Regions from separate parts of the Homo sapiens genome. Here all the other regions are linked to region 3. The links are contacts of gene promoters, found by promoter capture Hi-C in blood cells and fetal thymus (Javierre and others, 2016). All regions are on one chromosome and are shown on one strand. Each heading gives the region's core, a stretch centred on a gene start or on the middle of the fragment in contact. The rest is flanking DNA. Distances are from core to core; before and after follow the strand shown.

Evidence for each region. The method cuts DNA at HindIII sites, captures the fragments that hold promoters and counts their contacts. A CHiCAGO score of 5 or more calls a contact.
Region 1: a contact is called between a fragment that was not itself captured here and the fragment with the promoter of PAXIP1-AS2 in region 3, in 1 of 17 cell types (M0 macrophages). The highest score is 5.1, in M0 macrophages.
Region 2: a fragment that was not itself captured here is called in contact with the fragment with the promoter of PAXIP1-AS2 in region 3 in 2 of 17 cell types (total B cells and fetal thymus); the score reaches 5.6 in total B cells.
Region 4: a fragment that was not itself captured here is called in contact with the fragment with the promoter of PAXIP1-AS2 in region 3 in 9 of 17 cell types (fetal thymus, total CD4 T cells, activated CD4 T cells and 6 more); the score reaches 14.5 in fetal thymus.
Region 5: a contact is called between a fragment that was not itself captured here and the fragment with the promoter of PAXIP1-AS2 in region 3, in 3 of 17 cell types (total B cells, naive B cells and fetal thymus). The highest score is 7.2, in total B cells.
Region 6: a contact is called between a fragment that was not itself captured here and the fragment with the promoter of PAXIP1-AS2 in region 3, in 1 of 17 cell types (total B cells). The highest score is 5.4, in total B cells.
Region 7: a fragment that was not itself captured here is called in contact with the fragment with the promoter of PAXIP1-AS2 in region 3 in 2 of 17 cell types (fetal thymus and naive CD8 T cells); the score reaches 6.1 in fetal thymus.

The regions. Positions count from the first base shown.
Region 1 is chr7:155,573,849-155,577,606 of GRCh38, forward strand. No RefSeq gene overlaps it. Among named protein-coding and RNA genes, the nearest start is that of CNPY1, 29 kb to the left of the region's middle. The HindIII fragment of the contact is 342 bases long and covers 2,247-2,588 here.
Region 2 is chr7:155,471,270-155,474,811 of GRCh38, forward strand. No RefSeq gene overlaps it. Among named protein-coding and RNA genes, the nearest start is that of EN2, 15 kb to the left of the region's middle. RefSeq lists enhancers at 1-889, 83-1,845. The HindIII fragment of the contact is 7,565 bases long and covers 1-3,542 here.
Region 3 is chr7:154,926,350-154,929,766 of GRCh38, forward strand. It overlaps PAXIP1-AS2 (PAXIP1 antisense RNA 2), which reads left to right and starts at 2,168. Exons shown (of 8, transcript NR_024476.1): 1 at 2,168-2,418; 2 at 2,607-2,675. RefSeq lists enhancers at 2,249-2,308, 2,329-2,428, 2,579-2,798. The HindIII fragment of the contact is 7,419 bases long and covers 843-3,417 here.
Region 4 is chr7:155,639,334-155,642,908 of GRCh38, forward strand. It overlaps RBM33-DT (RBM33 divergent transcript), which reads right to left. Exons shown (of 3, transcript NR_126344.1): 3 at 2,583-3,575. Among named protein-coding and RNA genes, the nearest start is that of RBM33-DT, 3.3 kb to the right of the region's middle. The HindIII fragment of the contact is 1,941 bases long and covers 676-2,616 here.
Region 5 is chr7:155,498,845-155,502,596 of GRCh38, forward strand. CNPY1 (canopy FGF signaling regulator 1) reads right to left here. Exons shown (of 5, transcript NM_001393663.1): 5 at 2,285-3,752. Among named protein-coding and RNA genes, the nearest start is that of EN2, 43 kb to the left of the region's middle. The HindIII fragment of the contact is 1,207 bases long and covers 1,410-2,616 here.
Region 6 is chr7:155,547,638-155,551,449 of GRCh38, forward strand. No RefSeq gene overlaps it. Among named protein-coding and RNA genes, the nearest start is that of CNPY1, 3.0 kb to the left of the region's middle. RefSeq lists an enhancer at 537-1,038. The HindIII fragment of the contact is 4,683 bases long and covers 1-3,812 here.
Region 7 is chr7:155,655,835-155,659,296 of GRCh38, forward strand. The region is part of intron 1 of RBM33 (RNA binding motif protein 33); the gene reads left to right. Among named protein-coding and RNA genes, the nearest start is that of RBM33, 13 kb to the left of the region's middle. The HindIII fragment of the contact is 9,727 bases long and covers 1-3,462 here.

The sequences.
Region 1 (3,758 bases), core at 1,168-3,667, 650 kb after region 3:
CGCATACACTCGCACGCTCCTGCGGGAATTCACCCCACGCATACACTCGCACGCTCCTGCGGGAATTCACCCCACGCATACACTCGCACGCTCCTGCGGGAATTCACCCCACGCATACACTCGCACGCTCTTGCGGGAATTCACCCTACGCATACACTCGCACAGGTATACAGTGGTTCATGTCTGAAGTTATTCATTGCAGCATTGTTTGAAACAGCCAGAGATAAAAAACAATCTGCCTTCAGGAGGAAACGTGTTAAAGTGTGGGGCAATGAACTACTGCATCAGGGAAAAGAAAGGGAAATTTCCTTTTTTTTTTTTTTTTTTTTTTGAGACGGAGTCTCGCTCTGTCGCCCAGGCTGGAGTGCAGTGGCGCAATCTCAACTCACTGCAAGCTCCACCTCCCGGGTTCACGCCATCCTCCTGCCTCAGCCTCCCAAGTAGCTGGGACTACAGGCGCCTGCCACCTTGCCCGGCTAATTTTTCTTTGTATTTTTAGTAGAGACAGGGTTTCACCGTGTTAGCCAGGATGGTCTCGATCTCCTGACCTCGTGATCCACCCACCTCAGCCTCCCAAAGTGCTGGGATTACAGGCGTGAGCCACCGCGCCCAGCCGGGAAATTTCTTTATGGAATGCTATAGGATAATCTCCAAAACGTATTTTTAAGTTTAAAAAAAAAAGAATCCAAACAGTGTGTATATAGCAGGTCCTTGACTTGTGATGGTTTGACTTGTAATTTTTTGACTTTATGAGGGTGTGAAAGCGACATGCAGTCTATAGAAACCATACTTCAAATTTTGAGATTTGATCTTTCCCAGGCTAGTATATGCATCACGAACTCTCTCAAACCTGGGCAGGGGCAGCCGCAGCCCCCAGTCAGCCCTGAGACCACGAGGGTGAGCAACCTGCCCTCTGCAGTGGGCTGCGCTGCCCAGCGATGTTGCCAGCTGTGGGCTGATGTGAGTGTTCTGAGCAGGGTTAAGATAGGCGAGGCTAAGCTGCGATGTTCCCTTGGTTGGGTGTATTAGATGCATTTTGACTTAAAATACTTCCAACTTATGACGGGCTTATTGGGATGTGATGTCATCCTAAGTTAAGGAGCATCTGTAATGTAATATGCTACTCTTTGAGTAAAATAAAATCTTTCTGGAAGGATACCAAGATCAGTCTCCTCTGGGCAGAAAAACTGAGTGGCTGAGGGCCCTTGGATAATACAAAATCTGGCCTTTGTCCCAGCACTCTAAGTCCTGGGAACTTCCCAAGTGGTTAAACTGTCTTCATTATTCACATTACTCACAGTGGGCCCTGGTAGCTTATACTAATGAGGTGAGCCAGCATGGTCCCTGGATACCTGCAGGATGGGAGGTGGTCACTAGCAAACCCAATCATATGATTAGAGGGCTAGGACTTTGGGCCCAGGGCTATCGGCCCAACCTGCTGACCTCTGGGAGGCAATGGAGGAGGCAGAGACTGAGTTTTCCCCAGCTTGGCTGATCACTCAACCAGTCGTATTTATGGAACGAGATGCCAATAAAAGCTCTGATGCTGAGGCTCCGTGGAGGGTCCAGATGTGCCTGGAAGGTGATGTGTGCTGATCCACAGGGCAGGACATGGAAGCTCTGCATTCAGGACCCAACCAGCCCTCACCCCATGTGTCTCTTCATTTGGCTGGCCTGATGTGTGTTCTTTATTATGAAAATGGGATCGTGGCCAGGCACAGTGGCTCATGCCTGTAATCCCAGCACTTTCAGAGGCCAAGGCGGGTGGATCACCTGAGGTCAGGAGTTCAAGACCAGCCTGGCCAACATAGTGAAACCCCGTCTCCATAAAAATACAAAAATTAGCTGGGCATGATGGCGGGGGCCTGTAATCGCAGCTCCTCAAGAGGCTGAGGTGGGAGAATCGCTTGAACCCAGGAGGCAGAGGTTGCAGTGAGCCAAGATCGTGCCACTGCATTCCAGCCTGGGCAACAAAGCGAGATTCAAGTGCAACACTTTCGAAGGCTCTGGGAGTGTTCCAGTAAATTATAAAACCTGAGGTCATCAGGGGAGCCCCTGGATTTGTAGCAAGTTGGTCAGAGGTGCAGGTCGCCTGGGGACCTCACTTGGGGGTGGCATCTGAAGCAAGGGCCGTCTTGTTGGGACCCTACCCTTAACCCATTTATGCCAGAGGTCGCAAATATTTTTTTGTGAAAAATCAGACCTTGGCAATGACCTTGAGCAGTAGGCTATAAGTAAGTCCCACAAGCTTAGTGTTCCACTAATGGAACACTAGGCGTAAGTGGGTGAAACCTGTGGGGATGCTAACTGGGTGGCAGTTTCAAAACGGAAACAAAAAAAGGGAAATGAATTTTTGCTATAGACATTTTGTACCTTTTTTTGAGTATATTTCCTATTTACAAACAAATATAAAATAAAAAGAAAGGTATTTTTAACTCTAGGAAAAACAAACAGTTGTAGATGAAAGCCGTGGTGCAAACGTGAAGCCGACTAAAACGTGGCCTGATTTTGAGCTACTGACAGAGCTTAAGAAAAAAGACTTTCTTCCCGCGGACAGGGGAGCCCTCTCCTTCGAGTGGGGAGTCTAAAGCTTCCCTCCTGCTTCATGTGCTTCAGAAGCTCTAGCTTTCATTCTCCGTTCGATTTTACCAACCAGCCCTGAGCAAACAGACCTCCGACCCTTGAAGTCAGGAACACTTACTTGGAGTTTCTCCGGGCGAGGCACAGGTGGCCGGGGCCAAGCTGCCCAGGTGAGGAAAGTCTGGAGGACTCACGCCTTAGGTGTGTTTGATTTCACCACCGCAAGGAAAGCCTCCTCACGTGCACCGCACGGGCTTGCAGAAAGCAGCCCCAGCCCGGAGTAAGGCGTTCGGAAAAGCGCGCTCTGCTCCGTCCCCGGACGCTCCCTCTTCCTGATATCCTTGCAGCTCTCTGGTTGGGGTTTTTTTCTTTCTCTTTGCATCCTCATTTCTCCTCTGGGCTTTTCTGTTGCACAAAACAGAAAAAAATAGAAGAAAAACACTTTGGCAGATTGTTTTATTCTGTGGCCAAAGGAAATCAGAGAGGACTAAATGCGGAAGGAGCTGAGCGACTCCAGCCCACTCATTCGGTGTACAGAGCAGCTTAGCAAGAAGGCGTGGACTGCTGGGCTGGGCTTGCATTCTACAAAACTCCGCCATTCACCGGGGTCACCCTGGGCGGGCACTCCAAGTCCATGGCCTGTGTCAAGTGAGTCACACGGTTGACGCTACCTGGAGGCACTGGTGTCACCTTGGGTGTGGCATTGGTGTCACTGACTCTTCCCCATCTGCTGGCCCAGACTTTTAGGCCTGCGCTGTCCTCTGATTGTCTGTGGTCCTCCCCCAGAGACAGGCTCAGTCCTGCCCAGCGCTGTGGAGCACCTACCCTGGTGGCCATTCCAAGCTTCAGCCCCCTGGGCAGGTCCAGGCTGAAACACCACAGGAAGGCCAGGGGAACCTCTGTACTTCCCAGACAGACCCCATCCCAGCACCAGACAGACCCCATCCCAGCATCCACTGAAGCCCCTGGACGGCTCCTTCGGGACTCTGGCCGCTGCTTCCTCTGCTTGGGGCAGCATGACGAGGCTGTGCAGGGCTGAGGAGGGGCGGGGTCCTCAGAATGACAGGTGCATCCACGCCACACCATGTGGCACTGTGGGTGGCCTGTCCCCCTTCTTAGCCAACCCTTTACCTGAGCATCAGCGCAGCATCGTTTGGGCCGGGATGAGCGTAGAGTTT
Region 2 (3,542 bases), core at 620-3,119, 540 kb after region 3:
CGGGCCCATTGCCCCTGGGAACTCAGTGAGCCTTAGAATTTATTTTAGTGACTGCATACTGCCTCAGAGTAGGCGATTCCACCAGTGACTCATCACTCGCAGAGAGAAAAACATCTTTTATATGTAGAGACGGGAACGCGCCCTGTGGATTCAGAGCCCCAAGGAAACAAAAACAGCACGTCAGAGGAAGAATGTCATACAAACCCGCTGGAGTCACAAGGCAAAACAGCCCCCATACCTAAACGCCCGGCGTGACAATGGCCTTTGTGCCTGGCGCCGTCGGGGGGAGCTGGGCGCCTAGCGGGTGGGGCAGGCGGAAGTTGGACACATTTCCACGCAGGTGAGGCCATCCATGGGGTGATGCGGGTGTTGGGGCTCGCTGCTTTCGCTCCATGAAGATTTGCAGCCCCCCCCAGCCAACCCACCCCATCCCTTCCCCCCACAAGGGTATTTCATCCACACTGTTTTTTAAATGCTTCCTAGTCAAACTTGAATATGCAATGAGACGCGGGAGCTTTGTGGCGGAAATATAATTAAACTGGGGAAAGATGTAAAAGCTGAAGAATGGGATGACATCAGGCTGATTTCACACTCGGCAGTCGGATCGCTGGGCCCAAGCCGCGCTCTTGCCACGCAAGGCAGATCAAAGTGCCCTGCCACCGCTAAAAAGGCAAAAGGGGACTTAAGTATGCTAATCCCCAGGACAAATATATTTTAATCTTGTTAGAATACAAGTTAATGCTGCAGCTCAGTGGCTGAACTTGGTCAGACTGTAGAGATCCATTTTTATTTTAGCTATGAATGAGCTAGACCTCTTGGTTTATTCATCGGTAATAAAAGTAAATTTACAAAACGAACCCCTCTTTGGGCTGTGTCACCCCCACCTTGAGCTCTCCTTACTGGGGACTGGGGAATTCCAGAGGCTTCCAAGATGGGAGCATCCCTAACACCATCCATCCTTCTCCGACCTGTCCCCTTCTGTAGAGCATCCTGATGGCCGAGGAAGGAACTCTGCTCACGCAGCAGAGAAGAAACAGGGAAACTCAAAAATTAATTAAAAGATTCTCCAAAGCAATCTGTTTCCCTTTAGGCTTGTGGTTTGACAACCAAACCAATTCCTTTCTGTCAGCCCTCTCACTTTAATTTTTGCAATGTCAATTTTCATTACTATTAATTATTTGCCAAGCTCCAACTGTACATTTGGCATTGCTCTGATGAGCAAGAAGCTCTCAGGTTCCTCCCTCTTTAAGTGTCGATTCCTGGAAGATATGAATATGCAAGTTTCTGCGTGTGTGTACATGTAAAATATTGGGCACACATAGAAGAAGAAATGTCAGCCTGTAGAGCTCCCCTTGAAATAAAACCACTGTGGTAAAATATTAAGCAGAACCACGGATATATCTGCACAGAGGAATGTGTGTGTGTGTGTGTGTGTGTGTGAGAGAGAGAGAGAGAGAGAGAGAGAGAGAGAGAGAGAGCGAGCCAGCCAGCGAGCCAGCACTTAACTGTAAGGTTACAGAAGGTTAAACGGCCCTGCAGAGCCTGCCTGCTAAATATTGCTGATGGCAGCCGCGTCTAAAAGGCAATTTCTGTCTTTCTGCTCTAGCGTGTGTTAGAATTCCCTCTGCCTCAGGCAGAAAACCTGACTCCCACTAAAGTGTGCTGCACAGCCCTGCATTCCAAAGCCTGTCTGTGCCCTTCCGGCTCCCTGGCCTCAGCAGGGGGGGCGGGTGCAGGAGGCTATGCGCGCACACACAGTCCCCCAGGCAGGCCAGGCAACTGGCAGCCCGAGGGGAGGGGCAGCTGGCAGCAGTATCCCCCTCCCCCACAGAGAGCTTGGAAGGTTGGGAGGAATCCACCCACCCCTGACTGTCCCTGGTTTCCAGGACTCGGGAATGTCCATCCCTGCCATATTTTTGTCTGTGTGGGAAGCAGACACACTGTCACTACTGTAAGCACACAATTGATAAACGGTGAGTTTCCAAATTCCCGGGAAGAAAAGCTGGACAAAGACCCTAGAAGGGAAGTGTCTCCCATATTCGTGTTTCTCCTAATCCCTTCAGTGTTCTGCCCTTTAGCTGTAGCCAGCTTAGTGCACACTCTAGCACTTCCGTTGCAGTTCGTGTTCTGGAAGTCACATTTCCCAGGCATTGGTGTAATGTCTCTTCCTGTCTCAAATAATAATAACACCCAATGTTGATTGAGTTCCTACTAGGTCTCAGTGTAGGAGTTTCTGAGGGCGGCCGTAACAGTAGCACACACTGAGAGGTTCACACGACAGAAGTCTATTCTCCGAGTCCTGGAGGCTAGAAGGCCAAAATCAAGGTGTCAGCTGGGCTCTCTCTGAAGGCTGCAGGGGAGACCCTTCTCGCCTCTTCCTGGCTTTTTGTGAAGGCTGGCAACCCCTCACTCCAATCTCTGTCTTTGCTGTCACACGGCCTTCTGCCCTGTGTCTGTACCCAAATTTCCCTTTGCTTATAAGGACACCAGTTACATTAGATTTGGGCCCCCCTTAATTCTGTGTGACCTCCTCTGATCACATCTGTATGGCCCTATTTCCAAATAAGGTTCCGTTCACATATTCCCAGGACATTAATGTGGGAGTACACTGTTCTACCCAGGACAGCCAATACTCACCATTGTATGTGGGTTATCTTCAGTCACTCTCATAATGCACCCCACCAGGTGGCTACTGGTCTTAACACCGTTTTACGGGGGAGAGGACTGAGGTCAGGGAAGGGAAGCTATCCGGGCTGGCCAGGGTGTGTGGGGCTGTGTGAGCTCTTATTTGCTGTGTGGCATTGCTCTCCGCGACCTTGGCTGGTTTACATCACCAGCAACATAATCCTGACTTGGTTTAGGCCTGGCCAGACTGCATGTGTGTGTCCCCAGGGAGACGCTGTCCCCCAGCACCGACGACATGCATGTGAACTTGCCTCGTAATCTGCAAGGGTGAAGCAAACACCGATGGCACTGGTGTCATGCCTGCTGTGCCTTTTCCTCTCTGGGCCTTGGTTTCCTCATCTGAAACCTGCAGATAATAGAATTAACTTGAAAGCCTGCAGTGACAATCACATGAGAGAGTGCCCATGGGCACTGGGATCCCGCCTGGTGTACAGTGAGCACTCAGTAAGTGTCTGCCAGGGCTGGCTGTGATTTTCCAACTGCAGACATAGCAAATAATGAACTCGTATGTGCTATCCTTTGGTTGTTTCAGTTCCCTGTAAGTCCCGGCTCCCTCCTCCTCTCTCCTGGAGATCTGAGGCTCTGCAGCAGCCTGATGCCACCCTCAGGGCTCTGGAACCAGCAGGCCAGAGGGAGACACCACGCAGCCTGCCACCGCTCCTTACCTGCTGTGCCTTGGTTTCCTCTATGCTAGATGGGGGAATTAATCTGCCTCAGAGGACTGTTGAACTTAGACACGTAACAAGCCCGGCACAGAATAAATGCTCAGTCAAAGGCAGTGACCGTTCTTACGGAGGCAGGAGCCAACGGGGATCCTCCTTGCCCACTGCAGGTCATGCCATCTCAGGGTTCCCTTG
Region 3 (3,417 bases), core at 918-3,417:
CTGCAAGGAATGGGACCTTGTACCAAGATGGGATTAATTCCAGATAATGTGGCTCCAGTGTCAATAAGTGCTTGTGTTAGTTCTCCATTTATAATAATTTTTATTTCTCCCAGTGTTAGTAAGGAGGAAATGAAAGGCCCCTTTAAGTTCCTTGGAGCACCCCTGTTTTCTTTTCTGCCTCCACTGGTTAACATTCTTTCCTTTTTCATTTTTGGCAACTCTTTTGAAAGTAATCATGCTTTTTGCAAAAATTGCAAAGTGGAAGGTTAGGTCCATTAGGGAGTTTCTAGGGGTATTGTGAAGGCCAAAATTGTGTGAATAGTTGTTTTAATTGTAAATTCATAATTGTATTAGCCTCGCTCTTTTGTTTGGCTTCCCTCTCTCTTTCTTCTTCAGTTAAGGTATCAGATAACCGGTCAATGAGACTGACCAAATCATGAGTATCAGAAGTGGCCCAACTTTGTCTTTTCATTGTTAGTTCCAATTCATCTAACTCATTTGTTAAACTGGAGTCGAGTATCATTTCGATGATTAGCACAGCTTTCTTCGGATAAAACTAAATATTCTTTAAAATTTTTTCCACAGCCCTCAAAGTATATTACTGACTCATCTGAATTTTGTTGATATTGTATTTTGTTCCAGTTGACTACTCTGAAAAACTGAGGAGATAGCCTGATGCAAAGCCTTTGCTGTTCTTCAAGCCTGTCTATGGTCCTCTTCTGAACATTTATGAAGATCCCTAACAGATTTCTCCAGTGAGCTTTGTCTAGCCAGCCTTTAGCTTTAATTTTTGCTACTAACATGTGAATCTGTTGCTAGAAGTCAGAATAACTAGGGTCATAAGCTTGGATATTTAATTCAAATTTCCTAGCAAAACCAATAGGAACCTGGTGAAGATCAAGGAATTCTTTTAACTATGCCTGTAAGTTTGATCATGATTGATAAAGCAGGTTCCCCTCTACCAGATGCTGGATGAAATGGAGCCAAACCAGTGGGAGCAGGAGGAGGGGCAGGAGGAGGAGGAGGAGAAGGTCAATCAGGGCTGGGTAGTTCTGACAAGGAGGCTTAGAGAGACAGGGGAGCAGGGAGAGAAGAAGACATTTCAGTGTTTTTTAAAATTCAGTAATGGTTTTAGAGTGCTTTTTATTTTCTTCCTCTAAGGGAAGAATTCTGTCAAAACCTCTTTTGGATGCTTCTGGGTGCCATTGGAAGTAACTCTCTTAATTATTTTATTTGATTCCATAGCTGGCTTTTTAAAATTGTGCATATAAATAAACTAATCTAGCTATTTCAAAGATAATTCTCTTTGATCATTGTAATTTAGGATCTTCTTAGGTCAAATAAGACCATTTCTCCAACTATCGACAGGAGGTGGCGCCATAAGTCTTGTACATAAACCCCGCTGGAGTTTCCAAAGGTGCATTGCTTAATGAGGGCTTGGTTATAGATGGATAATTGCTCATAATTTGGATTCTCTTTTAAAATGCCCAAAGGCTAAAAGGGAAAAGTGTTTGGGGTCCAGTGTGCTGCTTAGTAGGGATTATTCCTGGAGGTATCACCTACAAGTAGCTTCTTCCCTCTTACCTACCTCAGAGAAACCCAGACATTTCTGGGAGTTCAAGGCACTGGGTGACGAACCCCTTGTGTGTTGTGTGCCCCGGGGGTTAAGCAGCTCTCCCTGTGAGTTCTTCTCTGGGGTTTGTTGTGAGCTTCCACACCCTTGTGTTACCTCCATTGCCTAAGGTGCCTTTCAGCTGGGAGAAAGAGTCCTTTTTGTCTTCAGCTTATCACGTCCTCATTCCAACCTTTTACAAATTTTGGGTGACTCAGGAAGAAACTTTAAATCTCAATGTTAACCAAGATCCAAAGCCTGGCTGGTTTAAAGCCACAAATTTGGCTTAAGCCACAAACATTCACTTTCTCCTTTTACAAAGAAAACTGCTTTCTCTTTAACCAAATGTCAAATGAGAGAAAAGGTTACAAACTTGAGCAAGTAAAAAAATGTCCAATGAGAGAAAAGGTTACAAACTTGAGCAAGTAAAATGTCCAATGAGAGAAAAGGTTACAAAAGAGCAAGTAAGACGAACGAAAACTTAACCTAATAGAAAAGTGAAACCACAAACCTGCCAATAGCAGAATCTTTAGAGAAATGACGCGAAACTCCTGCCTTAAAGCCCTAAATGGCGGCTTCAATATCAGTCCCACTGAGCATGAAATTCATTTACTTAAATAAAATCTGAATCTCAGCCCAAACCTGGGAGATTCAAAACCTGAGAGCGGTCTTACCAAAGACGCCCGTATGTCTGGTGAAGTCAGTTGGATGCAAGCAGTTTGTGCTGGTACCAGGGCCCCAGCTACTGATGAAGTGGCAGGAGTCCACAGAAGCCTACTTCGAAGTTCCCGGGGCTTCCAGGGGAGGTGAGAACACAAGTGATGGGAGAGCCTGGGGAGGGACTGTCTGGTGAGTAAAGGTTGTGCTGCTCTGTGGATGAAATGTCTCTGAGGTCGTAAACATCTCAGAGCCGCCTTCGGGAGAACGGGTGATAGTCATCTGGGCTGATGTCACCTCCAGTGTCCTCTCCTGTGATCTGTGTTAATCCTCCCAGATTGACGAGATTCCTGGGGAGGCGATTCATGACAGCTGAGTTCCTTTTGGAGGATCCGTCTTCAGGCAGGTAAGGGGAGCTCAGAGGAAACCTCTGCCTGCATCCGCTGATTCCCAAGTGCCCTCAGCTCACAGGGATCAGCACTCCCAAGTGCCATGGGGGTGGCATTTCCTGAACTCCTTCAAAGCAATAACAACAGGCTGGGCGTGGTGGCTTACGCCTGTAATCCCAGCACTTTAGGAGGCTGAAGTGTGAGGATTGCTTGAAGCCAGGAGTTCAAGACCAGCCTGGGCAACATAGGGAAACCCTGTCTCTACAAAGAATTAAAAGAAAACTTAGCCAGGAATGGCAGTGCACACATGTGGCCCCGCCTACTCGGGAGACTGAGGTGGGAGGAGTGCTTGAGCCAGGTGGTTGAGGCTGCAGGGAGCTGTGATTGCACCACTGCACTCCAGCCTGGGCAACAGAGTGAGACTCTATCTCAAAACAAACAAACAACAACAACAAAAGTGAAACAATAACAACAACTTTTACAAAACGGACATTTGGGATCTACATGCCACACTCCTAAATGCGTCTCTTAAGCAACAGGTGTCACAGTCTTAAACCTTGTCCTTACCCTCTTCATTCTAGGCACCTGTTTCATTCCAGGTAGGGCTTCCTCCTGGTTTCCTAACACAGCGGGTTGAGATGAACAGCAGAGAAGGACACTGCACACCTCTGCAGGGTCTCCCCTCTGGCCCACCAGCCCTCCCTTCTCCAGCAGTGAAGACCTCACTATGTCATCCAGGCAGGAATAATATAGACAGAA
Region 4 (3,575 bases), core at 396-2,895, 710 kb after region 3:
ATTACAAACCCGTAGAAAGTTTAAGAGTAAAATTAAACTTTTTTTGTGAATCATGTGTGACCAAGTTGCTGAGCAGATGCCCCATCAGCCACAAGCACTGTATGTAGTATGTATTTACCACAAAGGCTTTCTTCCTACATGCAGCGTATTAATCACTGAAATCGGGAAATTAACTTGGTGTGTTACTGCCATCTAACCTTCAGACCCTATCAATTTTTGCAAATTGTCCCAATAAGAGTGAAAAGATCATTTATTGCATTTAGTTGTGATGTCTTTTTCTTCTTCAGTCTGAAATGTTTTCTTAGTGTTTCCTTGACTTTCGTAATTAGATCTTTGAAGATTACATGCCAATTATTTTCTGGAATGTCTCTCAATTTGAGTTTGTCCTTTTTTCTTCAGAATTAGATTTGGTTAGGTATCTTTGACAGGATGATCACAGAAGTGATGCTGTACTCTTCTTATTGTATTATATCAGGTGGCAACTTTTATTTATCCCATTATTGAAAATGTTTACTTTGATCAGTTAGGGTGGTTTTAGAGGCTTTTCCACTGAAAATTATTCTTTTCTACTATGTAATTAATATATATTTTCTAGGAAGGAACACCTTAACTATTTTGATATACTGTTTCCATATAAAGTTCAATTTATTATTTATCAATATTTGTATAGACACAAGCTTTCCTGTTTTTAGTCTATTGCTCTCATTATTTAATTTGATGCTCATCTCATCTCTGCTTTGGCCCATTAAATCTCACTTCTGTGTCATTTTGACATATCTTTATCACTATTCAAGCACTTCCTTGATTTTTGGAGGGAACAAGATGTTCCAGGCTGATCTTGCGAATTCCATGCCCCAGTTCTGAAATCAGTTGTTTTTCCAAGTAATACTGGTTCCTTTTGAAAAGTGGTATTTAGAAACCAAGGTCTAGGTGCTGGGTGTGCTCAAGATGGGCTGCTGTCTCCAGGGCACTCTTGGTGGACAGTTAGGAAACACACACACATACACACACACACAGTTATACAAAAACAGGCATACACATATTTGCATATACATTTATTCCTACAATGAAATACAATTATCAAAAACCATTAGTGCAATCACTCTGATTCTTTATTCTAGTGACACACCATAGGGTTAATTTTAGCTTTTTCTTCATATAAGTAACTCCCTATTTGCACAGTGTGAAACTTAGCTCCATCACCCTTCATATATTTATATATCTGATCAATTTCCCTGTTCATAACCAACATGCCATCTCTGTTGTCACCTTCTTCTGTGTAGGTCCCCTTATAACTGGAGTTCTGATTCCCTGTGCTCTGCCTCCCACCTGTGTGAAAACTCTCACGATGCTTGTGTTCTGCCGTTCTAGTCTACTTATCTTTGGCAACTCCCACCTCATCCCAGTAGGGCCCTGAATTCCACCTTGGGCCCATCCCTCAGGATCATGTCCTAGTAACCCGGTCATGTGTGACTCCCCATGTTGAACTGCCCCCATGGGTGGATGCCCTCCTCACTTTGCCAATCCACAGGACATACTTTGAAACCTGTGGTGCTCTCACATGCCTTGCTGGGCAGCCCTCTCACAGGGTATGAGCTGGAACACATGCTTGGGCTCCGATCCTCTAGCCTGGCCAGCACATCCCTCCCCACCTCTCCCAGCCCTGCTATACCACTAGTGCTGCCTAATGGCTTTAGGACATTGTTCAGATACAACAAAAAGGAAGCACTCTCTGGCTACTCTAGACAGTCTCTTCTTGATTTTTTTCATCCTTTATTTCCTTAAACCTTTCAAATATTGTCCTTTATGGTAATTTTAATAACTAAAGTCCCTAGGAGGTCAATCTAGTTTGTATTTTTCACTTACAGTGGTTTCTTCCCTCGTGCATTTTGTGATCTTTGATTTTAAGTCCATAGTTGGTTGACCTTAAACTGTGAAGAATATAAGGGGATAATTTGAGAAAGCCCTTCCAGGATCTCTGGCCTAATTTGGGAGCCTGGGGTTTAGATTCCCTCCTCAAAAGCTGTCCAAGAATTTGCTTCCTATTAGCAGTGCAAATGGGGATGACTTCCCCAGTGAAACCCTGAACTTCCTGTACACTACTAACTGCTCAGGCTTTGGATCTGTTTTTTTTTTGTTTGTTTGTTTTGCTTAAGAGATGGGGTTCTGTTTGGTCACCCAGACTGGAGTGCAGTGGTGCTATTACAGCTCATTATAACCTCGAACTCCTGGACTCAGATGATCCTTCCGCCTCAGCCTCCAGAGTAGTTATGCAAAGCAGTTAAAGGTATGCACCACCATGCTTGGCTATTTTTATTTTTATTTTTTGTAGAAATGGGGTTTTGCCATGTTGCCCATGCTGCTCTTGAAATCCTTGGCTCAAGTGATAACCACCTGCTTAGCCTCCCAATGCATTGGGATTACAGGTGTGAGCCACTGTGCCCAGCGTTTTGCTTCCTTCTTGATCCTTTGGAAACATTATTCCTAAAACCTAGCAATACAACAAAAAATGTTTTCCACAGAATCTGTTTTGTTGGAGGAGGGGAACAGAATTTCCAGTTCATCATTACTGAGACGAGAAAGACTTCTATATTCGCTTTATTTACAAAAAAGCAAAGCTTGCTTTTAAGATTTTCAGTAGGATATGTATGAAACTGCAGCGCTCACTAGGTAGTCTTCTTAGGTTTAACCCCTGACACTCATATAATGCCACGCCTGGCAGCAGCTCCACTTTGGAGGACTGAGGAGAAGAAACACACTTCACTGCGGTACAGGCATGGAAGAGCTCTACTCTTTGGCCCAAATGCAATTCAGGAGCAAACCATTATGGGTGGGGGCTTGGCTTGGAAGTCCTTGACCGGCGGGAAACCAGTTCCCTGAGTTTGTCTTTTAGATTCCCACATTCAGTTAAGACAGTAACAGAGGCTAAAGGTATGGCTTCCCACTAGGTGTTTTAAGATTATTCAGTACTTTCAAGCCAGAGGCAGTCTACATGTCAGAGGTCATTTTTACCATGAGCAATGTTTTATTTATTTATTTGGAGATGGAGTTTCACTCTTGTCACCTAGGCTGGAGTGTAGTGGTGTGATCTCGGCTCACTGCAACCTCCACCTCCTGAGTTCAAGTGATTCTTGTGCCTCAGCCTCCCAGGTAGCTGGGATTACATGCATGTGCCACCACACCCAGCTAATTTTTGTATTTTTAGTAGGGATGGGGTTTTGCCATGTGGGCCAGGCTGGTCTTGAACTCCTGACCTCAGGTGATCCACCTGTCTTGGCCTCCCAAAGTGTTGGGATTACAGGCGTGAGCCACCGCGCCTGGCCTACAACCAATGTTGTTTTATACCACAATGAACACTCTGCCTTCATAAGGTTTCTATGACAAGTTAAAGTTAACACAAAGTGAAGTTTGTTCATAGATAAGGACAAGGGGTTGGTTAAATCTTTACTCACAGTAATTTACCAAGAACTTCAAATACTGGGTGTCCACGCTAAAAAATTTTTCCAGTGGGTGTTTGATCAAAAAATTTTATAGACTCTTGTTCTAGAGAAATTCAGTTTCAAGTGGCTTATGAG
Region 5 (3,752 bases), core at 763-3,262, 570 kb after region 3:
ATTTTTACTTATAGTATATCAGATCTTTCTGAGCCCTGGCCATGCTTAATCAGCGGACATTGGGCATCCGATGCTTCAGTACGTAACTTGCCTTCCCTAGATGCTGGTGTGTTAACAATCCCGAAAGGAGAAGAAAGTTACTGGAGCCCTTATCAGCTCCACGGGAAGGCCATGTCCCTCTGGGTCACATCTTGGATTCACTAAGCTTGTGATTTGTGAACCTCCCCCTGCCCTGTGGCTTTGAGGGAACAGGACTATCAAACTGCTCACCTTACTGTACTGGGCTTTTACTCTGTGCTATTATGCTTTAGAGGGAAATTATCTAATCCATGGTTTACTGAAATCCATGTTCCATACAGTGACACATACTATAAGATTCTAAGCTAGTTCCAGTGCAGCCTCATGGCATTTTTGTTTTCCAGCAACTTCATAAGAGATTAAATATGTTTTACGAATTTCTTACTGTGGCAGGGTAGAATCTTTTTTATGTCCACTGTAATTTTTTTTTCTTTCATGAAAATCTTGAGATAATTCTCCAAGATAAGGAGCATAGGAATGTTTCTTTAATTAAGGAATTAGAAATAAAGACCCTATTTTTTCCCTGAGATCTCCACACTGGAAATTCGAAGCTCTAGCTGATCTCCGTGTCCTCTCTCTATTATGTATGTCCGTGTCTGTGTATTTGTATGCATGTATCTACATTTCCAAGTTTCTATCTATCTGTTTATCTATTTATCCATCCATCTAATTTTGGACTTTCCTGAAGAACCCAGAAGGGTAGAGAGCTGTATGTGACATGTAAGACTCCTCTTCCACAAACTGTCCTTCTGAAGCAAAGCCCCATGTTTCTGGTGATGGCCCCACAAGTGAATGAGCCAATATTATATTAAATATCATCAGCACCTCCTGCCGTTGGGGCAGATCGTGAAAAGTGGACTACAAAGAGCAGAGCCTCTCTCCTCAGCAAACATACATTTAGGGGAAGGGGCAAGAAGTTAAACTTTGCGTGAGAGCAGTATCAGTTACTGTTATCTTTCCCTAGGTCATTTAAGGGCAGTACAGTTTTACAACTTCCATAATTCTATTTCATTTATTGTATTTGATCTTTTTATCCACTTGGTTTCTTGCTCTAAAAGCAACTAATCTGAGGAATTTAAGAAATGTATAAAGGGGAATTAAATTATAGCTAGGGAATCATAATAACACACTTGTATGTCACAGGTGCATTCATATTGTGATGGTTTAGTATCATTGTTAATTGCATCTTGGTATCAAACTATACAATATCCTCTTGCGTGAGCTTCAGCACATTTAACATTAGCTCACAAATTTGTACCAAGTTTTAAAACAGACCACAAAATCACATCTAAGAATGACTTTTCTCATATTCCATGACAATCTGAATTTTAAGCTTGATATATAGTTTATCATTTTTATTTAGATATAGTGATTACGTATGTGAATAAATATCAACCTAAGCCAAGAAACAGATATAAAAGCACAGCCAGCTATCGACTCTATTTTTTTAGGGTTGTCTTAGTAAATAAAGTATTGATCTTTCCCGTTTGGGACTTCAGCACAATCCCGCTCTCCACTCCTCAGTAAAATGGATTCATTGTCCTTGGCTTGTTCTTAGCAAATAGTAATCCACATCACAAAAAATAAACTGGCCATCTCAGCCAATTTGGTCTTTTTTTTTTTTTTTTTTTTTTTTTTTATGAGAACAGGTTCACGTGTCTTCATGGAGACCCAAACCAACCATCTCATAAAAGAACAATTTGAAACCATGCAGCCTCAAACAAGTCTTCTCTCCTCATTATTTTAATAAGCATTACACACCCCACCCCGTGTTTTTCCAGGGATTTTTTTTTGGACATAGAATTAGGCAGCTTTTCATCAACTCTGAGAAACGTTCTCTCACCCTATAATGTTGCCTTGTTTCTTTTATTTTGTTTTTGTTTTTGTTTCCTCCCCATGACTTGTTTTATTTTGGTTTTGGTCAATAAATGTGACTTACAAGGCACCAAGGTGGCTAGGAGGATGCTAAAGTGAGTAGCTACTCTATCTCATTGTTCATTAGCAAAAGCAGCACAACCTAACAGTGGCCCACAGGGAAACCTAAGACTTCCTGAAGCCAGAAGAAATCCAGTGGTTTAGGTGTTATCACTCAAATACAGGTTGAATCAGTAACTTTGTAAGCTACGAATATTTACATGAGTTTGGCAAGTTTGATCTGGAAAAAATTCTGGAAAGAAAAAATACACAAGTCATGAGATATTAAAAATTTGCAAGATACAAGACTATTTTTAATGGGAAATCCAAGAAAAAAACCTGAAATGCCATATTTATCACAACCTTAGATAGTCACTGTAAGTCAAGGTTCCTCGCCCTCTCCATTCAAAGCAAAGCATCACTGTCCATGAAAGGCACCCCTCAGTGACAGGAGGTGCACCTCCCCACGTCCGTTTAGTTACAAACAGGAGCCCACATTTTCTTAATTTCTATAATTAGTGTTAGCATTGCCTACATTTGAGAATGTTTGATGATGATCAAAGAGAGTATGGAAACAGATTTGGCAACACTTCTACGGTTACGACCGTGAACAGTTTTCACTGAAGCTTACTTAGTGTCACAGGTCCCGCCATGTTCCTGTGAAGGTCACTAGGTTTTCAGGAATAATTGTCCTGTTTAGTGCATTTCCCAAGAAAATCCAAGTTAGGAGAATGTTCCTGATTTACTACTTTAAATGCCAAATTAACCTTAACTAGATACGTTTAAATAAAGCTATAGGGACTATGTTTTAAATAACAATTGTCCTACCCTACTGGAAAATAGTGTTAATTATTATTCAGTTCTATTTCCATCGTGTGTCAGCTCGGGTGCGAGTTCGCTGGGTTATGTAGGAGCCATCAGACTTAAGCAGCCACAGACAAGACAAAAAAGAAGCACCCAAGTAATTAAGTGACATTAACTCACTAACTTTTAATCAGAGTTTAGGTGGGGAGGGGGCATGGAAAGCCCTTCCCCTTAGCTTTGGTAAATTTTCCTAAATTTAAGAATTGTTTCCTGCTGAAGAGTCAGGAGAATGATTTAAACACATAATGTGCTTTTTAAGCAACTAAGTAACAATATGGCAAAGAGTTTTGGGTCGGGGGGGTTGGGGGGGGGATTTGTAGCATCCTACCCACTTGATTGTCACCAAAGACAATGAGAATCTCTTTTTAGAAACTGGTGTAGACCATACCCTGACATTTTTAATCATTAAAGTCAGATTCCATTGAATGCAAATGTAACAGAGATAAAGAAATTTCCGGGAGTGATTGTTACTAGACTTTGTATATTAAGTGTGGCCAAAAGATAATTTCCCACCAGGTCCCAACTCTTTTTCCATTCCTGTAGAAGAATGGTAGATTATTTAGTAGTAAACTCAACACACTAAATGTGAGCCAAAAAAAAAACGTTTAGAAGAAAAACAAACAAGCCAGAAGAGTTTGGAGCGAAACAAAACGCAATCACTAGTGTCATCTTTTAACACCTGATGCAATAATAAATCAACTTTCTAAGCCACTTAAACTCAGAATGGTGTTTGAGAGGCCAATATAATTATTGTTTACTATAAATTAAAGCATTCATTAGTTTTTACACATTCCACTAAATTTTAGAGATGGGTTTTTAAACTTGTGGTTTCTAAAAATTTTAATTTCATTCCTGATAAAAAGTGGGTTTCTTTCACTAATAGCCATATCTCACCC
Region 6 (3,812 bases), core at 609-3,108, 620 kb after region 3:
CCATGTATGAGATCATTGATCACTATGATTACCTGTTAGTGAGCAGTACATCTAACGATGTACTGGGCTCCTCTGGGGCCTGGAGGTCTCTGACAGAGTAGCCTGTCTCTCTGAGGCTTCCAGGAGGAGAAGGAAGTTTTCATGGCAGAGGCATGAAAACCTGTGTCTCGGGTGTCCACATCAGCACTTACTGTTTGGACTTGACGCAGTGCACAGGGGCTCAAAGCTACTGACCACAGGCAAGCCCCTCTTCTCTAGGAGCAGGACTTACAGCTCCAAGAACAAACACTTCCTTTCTGGCTCCCTTGAAGCTAGGCCAGGGCCTGTAACTTGGTTCTACAACCATGTGTTCTGGAATCTTCCTAAAGAGCCAGTGCTCGCCCTCTGCCCTCTCTGACCCACTATAGGTCGGAGCTCAGCTCAGGCCCCAGGACCAGGGTGGCCTGGGAGATGTCAGGGTGAGGAACTCAAAGGCGGGTCCTGGGGCCTGCAAGGGGAGAACTCTGTGCTGACCGGGACAGCACCCTCCACCCTTACGAGAGGGAGACAAGCATCCAGATTGTCTAAGCCATTGCTATTTTGAGTTCACTACACTCACTCACCTTCCACCTCTGGGATGGAATAAGAAAGGACCCTCCATGGTCAGTGCTCCCCAGTGGGGGATCTCGGTCAGCGCAGGGCCAGGGCTGCCAGGGGAGCGTGGGCCCAGAATCCCGGGCCCACAGGTGGTGAACAGCCCAGTAGGCTCAGATGAGGAGTCCTCTAGGAAGAGCCGGCGGTGACCATGTTACTGCTGAGAATGGGGCCGCCTGGGACCCCTGAGGACAGCAGGAGCCCAGCTCCCACACGAGATTAGGAGGAAGAGGGATGGGATTGTCTGATGTCCTTTACCCTGGCTCCTGAGAGAGGGCAGATGGTGGGAAATGGTGTCTTGGAAGCAGAGGCCAAAGCAATCAGCACAAAGGAGGGGTGGCCTCTGGCCTCCAGGCCAACTTCAGAGGAGAAATGCATAGCCCGAGAGGATGGCCGCCAGCCGGGTGTGAAGGTTCCCCGAGAACCGGGGTGGGCCCAGCCCAGCATCTCCAGGGGCCCAGGTGGCCTCTGCCCTGACAGCCTCCTCCAGCCCTTCCTGGTGGACCCAGGAGCTGGAGATGGTGCGTCCTCACCTCCTGGCTGGCAGAGGACAGTGCTGGCCAACAGAAAGAATGTGGCCTTGCCGTCAAGTGCCAGCGTCAAACCCTGCTGGGCCATGGATGAGCGTCACCCGGCTCTACCCAGAGTCTCTCCCATCGTAGGGAGGGTGTTGCATGAGTCTGTAAGTGCCTGCCAGGCGTGGCCTGCCTGCTGTCCCCTTCCTGGCCCCACTGACTGCTTGGAATCCCTGACTTGGGCTCAGTGACTAGCTTGGGACCCCGTCTCTCCTCGGCATCTCTCTGCTTTCTGTGCCTGCAGACCCGTGCCCAGACTCCTGCCCAGCCGCCCCACCCTGAGCCCGGACGCTCCCTGTGCTGTGGTCACTGTGGGTGTCCTTGGCTCCCTGGATCCCTCAAGGCTGGACTTGCCGGCAGAAGTGGAAAGGGGCCGGTGAGTGGGCTCAGCTCACAGGGCTCTCTGGGTCAATATTTTAATGTTCTGCTGCCTTCATTTCAGGCCCACATTTCACAAGCACCAAGATAGGCCGTGAAAAGGCAGAGCCCCTTGTAGTGCACACCTGTCATCGAGCATCCCCAAATGCCCTGAGCATCGGGATGGCAGTAGCAGGACCAGGGCACAGCACCCCGCCCCCCGTGGCCATGCAGGGCTTCTTGAGGTCAGGGTGGCCCCGTCAGCAAGGAAAGGTGCTGGGCTTCCAACAGGACAGGAGGCCCCCAGGCCTGCCATCCCTGACCTCCCCTCGGAGGGGCCGCTCCACAAGAAAAGATCATTTTAAATTTCCGCCCCAGGTCACAGAACAAGTTAACAGTCACATCAGCGACCTGGGCTCCAGATTTCTAGTCCGGCATTAATTTAAATGTTAATCTGAAACCTTCACTTAAATCACAGGAGTTTAGAGTTTATTAGAGCAGGCGGCGGGAGTGGGGCCTCATGGGGGGATTGGTGGGTCACACTGCCTGCCAGAGGGCAAGCCCCCTCCCGCTGGGCCTACCAGCCCCTGCCACTATGGCTGTCTCCTTCCCTCTCCCTCCCTTTCTCTCTTAGAGGAAGATTTGGAAATGGGAAAGAGATGGAGGTAGATGTCACGACAGATTCAGATGAGCCTCCGGTGGCTCAGGTGCCGGAACCATCTCAAGGGGCTTGCAAGAGCAGATGGCATGTGTGCTGCTTCCCAACTCCACAGCTAGTGACATCACACAGGTAGCCCGGATCAACAGGGGTGGGAGTATTTACACAACAGGCATAGGCAGATGCTACAAATCAGGGCCCCGCCACCACAACCCTCCTGCCCACACTCTGCACATGCCCACAGGAGGCTGCATCTCCCTAGAGGTGAAGGGATCAATGAATATCTGAGCATTTGCCATTTTCAAGGTTATGAGCAAGGCCCAAGGAAGCCACCGAGGTCTGAGTCCCAGCCCGTGCCCTCCAAGGAGCTCGCATGTGGTGGATGCCGTGCCTCCATTCCTCCAGGGGTGTCTGGGCCACTCTCCCCACCAGCAGGAGCGGCTATGGGAACCAAGCCATCCAAAGCTGCAGGCAATGTGGATTTTCCTCCAGTGGCCTTTAGGCCACAAGCAGAGGTGACATCAGAACCACGTGGGGAGTTGCTAGAAGTACAGACCCAGGTCCCAGCCTGGGAGACTCTGAGTCGGGTCTGGGTTGGGCCTGAGATCTGCAAATGTCTTTGACATGCAGGAGGTCATTGTGCTCTGCAATGGGGGCCCTACCTGTCCCAAGGTGCACTGGCTAGTGGCAGCTCTCCTGCACCCTGCACCTCTCCGGAGCAGGTGCTGCTGACCAGTAAAGAGGGGTGCAGGGGCCACTTTCTCTGGTACCTCAGAGAACATGGCTCAATTCTAGAACAAACCATTTTCTAGCAGTTTCTATAAGCAAGGCAGGAGCCCTGGTATTACGATGGTAGTGATTAGTGCCCATGCAACTCCCACCACTCACATTGCATCTCCTGCATGGCTGTGCCCCCCACACTCCTTTGAGGGAAGATGAAGCCCCGACTCCCAAGGCTGCAGGAGGCCAGCAAGGCAAACGTGACGGAGGGGTGGCTCCCCCCAACCAACACTCCTGCTCCCCAAAGTGGAAATGGCTGATGCCACAGTCTTTCTTTAAGCCTGGTCTCTAGACATCCCAAAGTGTGGCGGGCCCCACTCTGTGCTACGAGGAGGCCATGAGAAGAGGCTGAAACCCAATGACGAGCTGCGCCTGTGCAGAGGCCGGGGTGAGCTGGATGTTGCTGTGCACGGCCTCCTGGGCGCCCCAGGCCTGGCTAACTCAGGAGCATCTCCCACTGCCCACAGGATATCAGGGCCCATGATGGACTCACAGCATCGACCAGGCCCGCCGCTGTGCCCGTGGCTCAGGCAGGTGCGGGAAGGAGAGGGGCTTTGGAATCCAGTCTCAGCTTCACCACACCCAAAAGTAGCTTCCTTGCTTCCTTCCTTCCTCCTCTCCTTACTTGCCCTGTTGGCTGCTTCTGTCCCCCAAAAAGATAAGCTGACATCCCAACCCCTAGTACCTGTGAATGTGGCCTTATTTGGGAATAGGGTCTTTGCAGATGGGATTGATTCAGACCAAGTCATACTGGAGTAGGGAGGGCCTTGATCCACCGACGGGACCTTCTAGAAGAGGAGAGACACAGG
Region 7 (3,462 bases), core at 144-2,643, 730 kb after region 3:
ACTTGAACCCAAGAGTTCAGTCCAGTCTGGGTAACATTGCAAGACCCCGTCTCTTAAAAAATAAAAATAAAAAAAGGTACTTGTTCAATTTAATTGTGAGCTGAGCTAGCTTTTCTTATTTCTTCTGTAGAACATCATTTTTACTTGAAAGGACAATTGACAGACTGTGGTTATTCAGATTTTAGTGCTTGGCGGATACATTCTTGAAAATGAAGTGAGCCTGTCACTTCAAGTAAAACAGTGGACATTATTTGTTGCCAATGATAATATGTAAGTTTTCAAACAAAAATGAGAATTTTGAAATACTTATATTTGATATTGTGAGCTTGAAAACTTCCCAGCACTTGAGGACTTTCCTGGTGAGATTGGTGATGTTGTTAACCAGTGTGATTTTGTATATTGGATAATGAAATGTGTTAGCATTTGGAGTACTACATAAATCAGGGCACCAATATTTTCAAAATGACCACTGCATGGTGGCACAAAATCATGGTTAAAGATCCAATAACAGTACAAGACACGCTTGGACTTTAACATAACAGGTATGAAATATTAATTGCTGTGGCTTCAGATTCTGCATTGCAGCCAGTCTTTAAGAAGTGGCCACTTTTTGATTATTAGTGTAGTATCGAAGAATATCTAAAATTGTTTGAAAAGACAAAGTACTTCTTTTTACAACTACGTATTTATTTGGAGTCAGATTTCTTTCATGTGTTTCAGTCAAAAAACATATCGAGTGAGACTCCATCTCAGGAAAAAAAAAATATGTGTATGTATATATCTCACAAGAGATTGAATGCAGAAGCAGATAGAAGAATTCAGCTGTTTTCTACAAAGTCAGACATTAAAGAGTTTTGGAAAACTAAAAAATATTTGTTTTATAGACTTTTTGTCATTAAAATATGTTGCATTAACATGTAATACTGATTTGTTTCTTAAGTTTGACTATTCTTTTTAAAATTATAGTCAGCCCAGTTTGTACCAGCTGACCCTTACCTCATTTCCTGTCTTCTTTACCCTCCTGCTCTAGTCTTTTCCAATAAAGGCCTTAAGTTACATACCATATATTAGTTTATTGGGATTACTGTTTGTCTTTTCTTACTAGAATGTAACCTACACAGGGTGAAGGTTTTTTTTTTTTTGTCTTGTATGTCAGTTGTCTAGAACAGTGCCTGGCATATATTATGTGGTCAAGAAATAGTTGTCGAGTGAAGGATACAGGTTTCATGACTCTTCATTTGTATTCATATTTTTTGCTTATCTTGCATTCTCTGATTTTGGAATGATTTCAACAGCCACTTTCCTTAGTATTTTATGGCGTCTCTCCTTTGGGAAAATACTTTAATTATTTTTGATGATCCTGGCCTCTAATTTTGGCTTTTGTAGATTTAACTCTGAAATTTCCGGAAAGTGCTACGTAGCACGATGGCAGTTAAATTTCCTTCCGGAGTGCCCGCGCTGATGCACAGTGTGAGATGAACACAGGGATTCCTAACCCTAGCTGTCCATCAGAATTAGTGGGAACTTTAAAAAGCAAAAAGAGCCCACTGAATCAAAAATCAGTGAGGAGGCCAAGGATTATATGCTTGTTAACAAGGTTATAATACTTGTTATTAGCTAGCCTGGCAAAAAGATGTTCTGGTTTCAGCAGAATTAGATGCTCTTTTTTTTCGTTTTTTCTTATTTTGGTCTCACTGTTTTGTCCAGGCTGGAGTGCAGTGGCCATGCACAGGCATGAGCATGGCACACTACAGCTTCAAATTTCTGACCTCAAGCAATCCTCGCTTCTCAGGCTCCCAAGTAGCTAGGGCAACAGGCTCCAGCCACTGCACCCAGTGGATGCTCTAATTAATTAGCAATGTCTGCCATGGATGATTGTGATTAAGTACTAATTTCTTCGCTGTGTCTTAATGAGAAAAAAGTCACAAGCTAAATTTTTAGCTTATAAAATATTGGGATTTTGCTTCTGTTTTCATAGATAGGGAATGCTCCTTGTTTTCATGAAGCATGACTTTTGATGTTTTAAAATTCATTAAGAACTATTTTTTGGCCTAACGTGTATCAGGGACAGTGCATCCTCTACATTTAAAAATAATGTATATTTTGCACTTGTTGGTCCAAGTACCCTGTATTGGCTGTTAGGTCTAGTTGATTTATAGTATTTGAGTCCTCTATATCCTTATTAATCTTTTACCTGGATTTCATATTTGTTGAAAGTGGGGTGTTGAATTCTCTAAGTATTAATGTAGATCAGTCTCTTTCTCCCTTCATTTTTGTCAACATTTGCTACATCAATTTTGGTGTTCTGTTTCAGTGCATATATGTTTATAATTGTTATATCTTGATGAATTGACCCTTTGATCGGTATACAGTATTCCTTCTTTTTGAAACAATTTTGGATTTAAAAATATTTTATCTGATATTAGTGTAACTTTGCCAGCTGCCTTTTGGTTACTATTTGCGTGAAATATCTTTTTCCATCCTTTCACTTTCAATTTATTAGTGTCTTTGGGTCTAAAGTGAGTCTCTAATAGGCAGCATATAGTTGGATTTTTTTTTTTTTTTTTTTTTGAGACGGAGTGTCTCTCTGTCGCCCAGGCTGGAGTGCAGTGGCGTGATCTTGGCCCACTGCAACCTCTGGCCCACTGCAACCTCCGCGGGGTTCAAGTGATTCTCCTGCCTCAGTCTCCTGAGTAGCTGGGATAACAGGCGCTCGCCACCAAGCCTGGCTAGTTTTTGTATTTTTAGTAGAGACGGGGTTTCACCATCTTGGTCAGGTTGGTCTCAAACTCCTGACCTCATGATCCACCCGCCTCGGCCTCCCAAAGTGCTGGGATTATAGGCGTGAGCCACCGCGCCCGGCTGCTTGTTTGTTTTTAATCCTCTCTGCCAGTCTGTGATGTGACAGAAGGTAGTCAAGTGGGAAATGCCAGATGCCAGTCCTTCCAGTGGAACAACTATTGACCTGGCAAGAACTGTTGGAAGCAACCGTTTTGGAACTTGAGAACCTAACATTGGTTTTCATCACTGATGGGCTGGTACAGAGGCTCTCTCTGTTATTTTCATCCCCCTCTGCTGAAGCAGTTTCTCCTCAGCTTTGTTCATTTTTCCTTTTTATTGGATGCAGGCATTTAAGGAAATCTACCAGGTCGCTGGTTGATTAGGGAGATAACAGTAGACAGACTTCAGTGACCACACTTAAGGAATATAATAAATAGTAGTTTTAAAAAGCCATTAAACAAATGGACAGCAACCTTCATTGTGTAACAGCAGCAACTCTGGGGAAGGAGAATCTGGTTTCTAGAGTTACTACATTGCAATGTACAGAATATCCAGTTTTAAATAGTAAATAGTAAATAAAATACTACATTGTATAGAAAGAAGCCTGAAAGTATGGCCCATTCATAGTAGAAAAAGAAATAGAAACCACAAGGATACCCAGACATTGGATTTACTAGACAG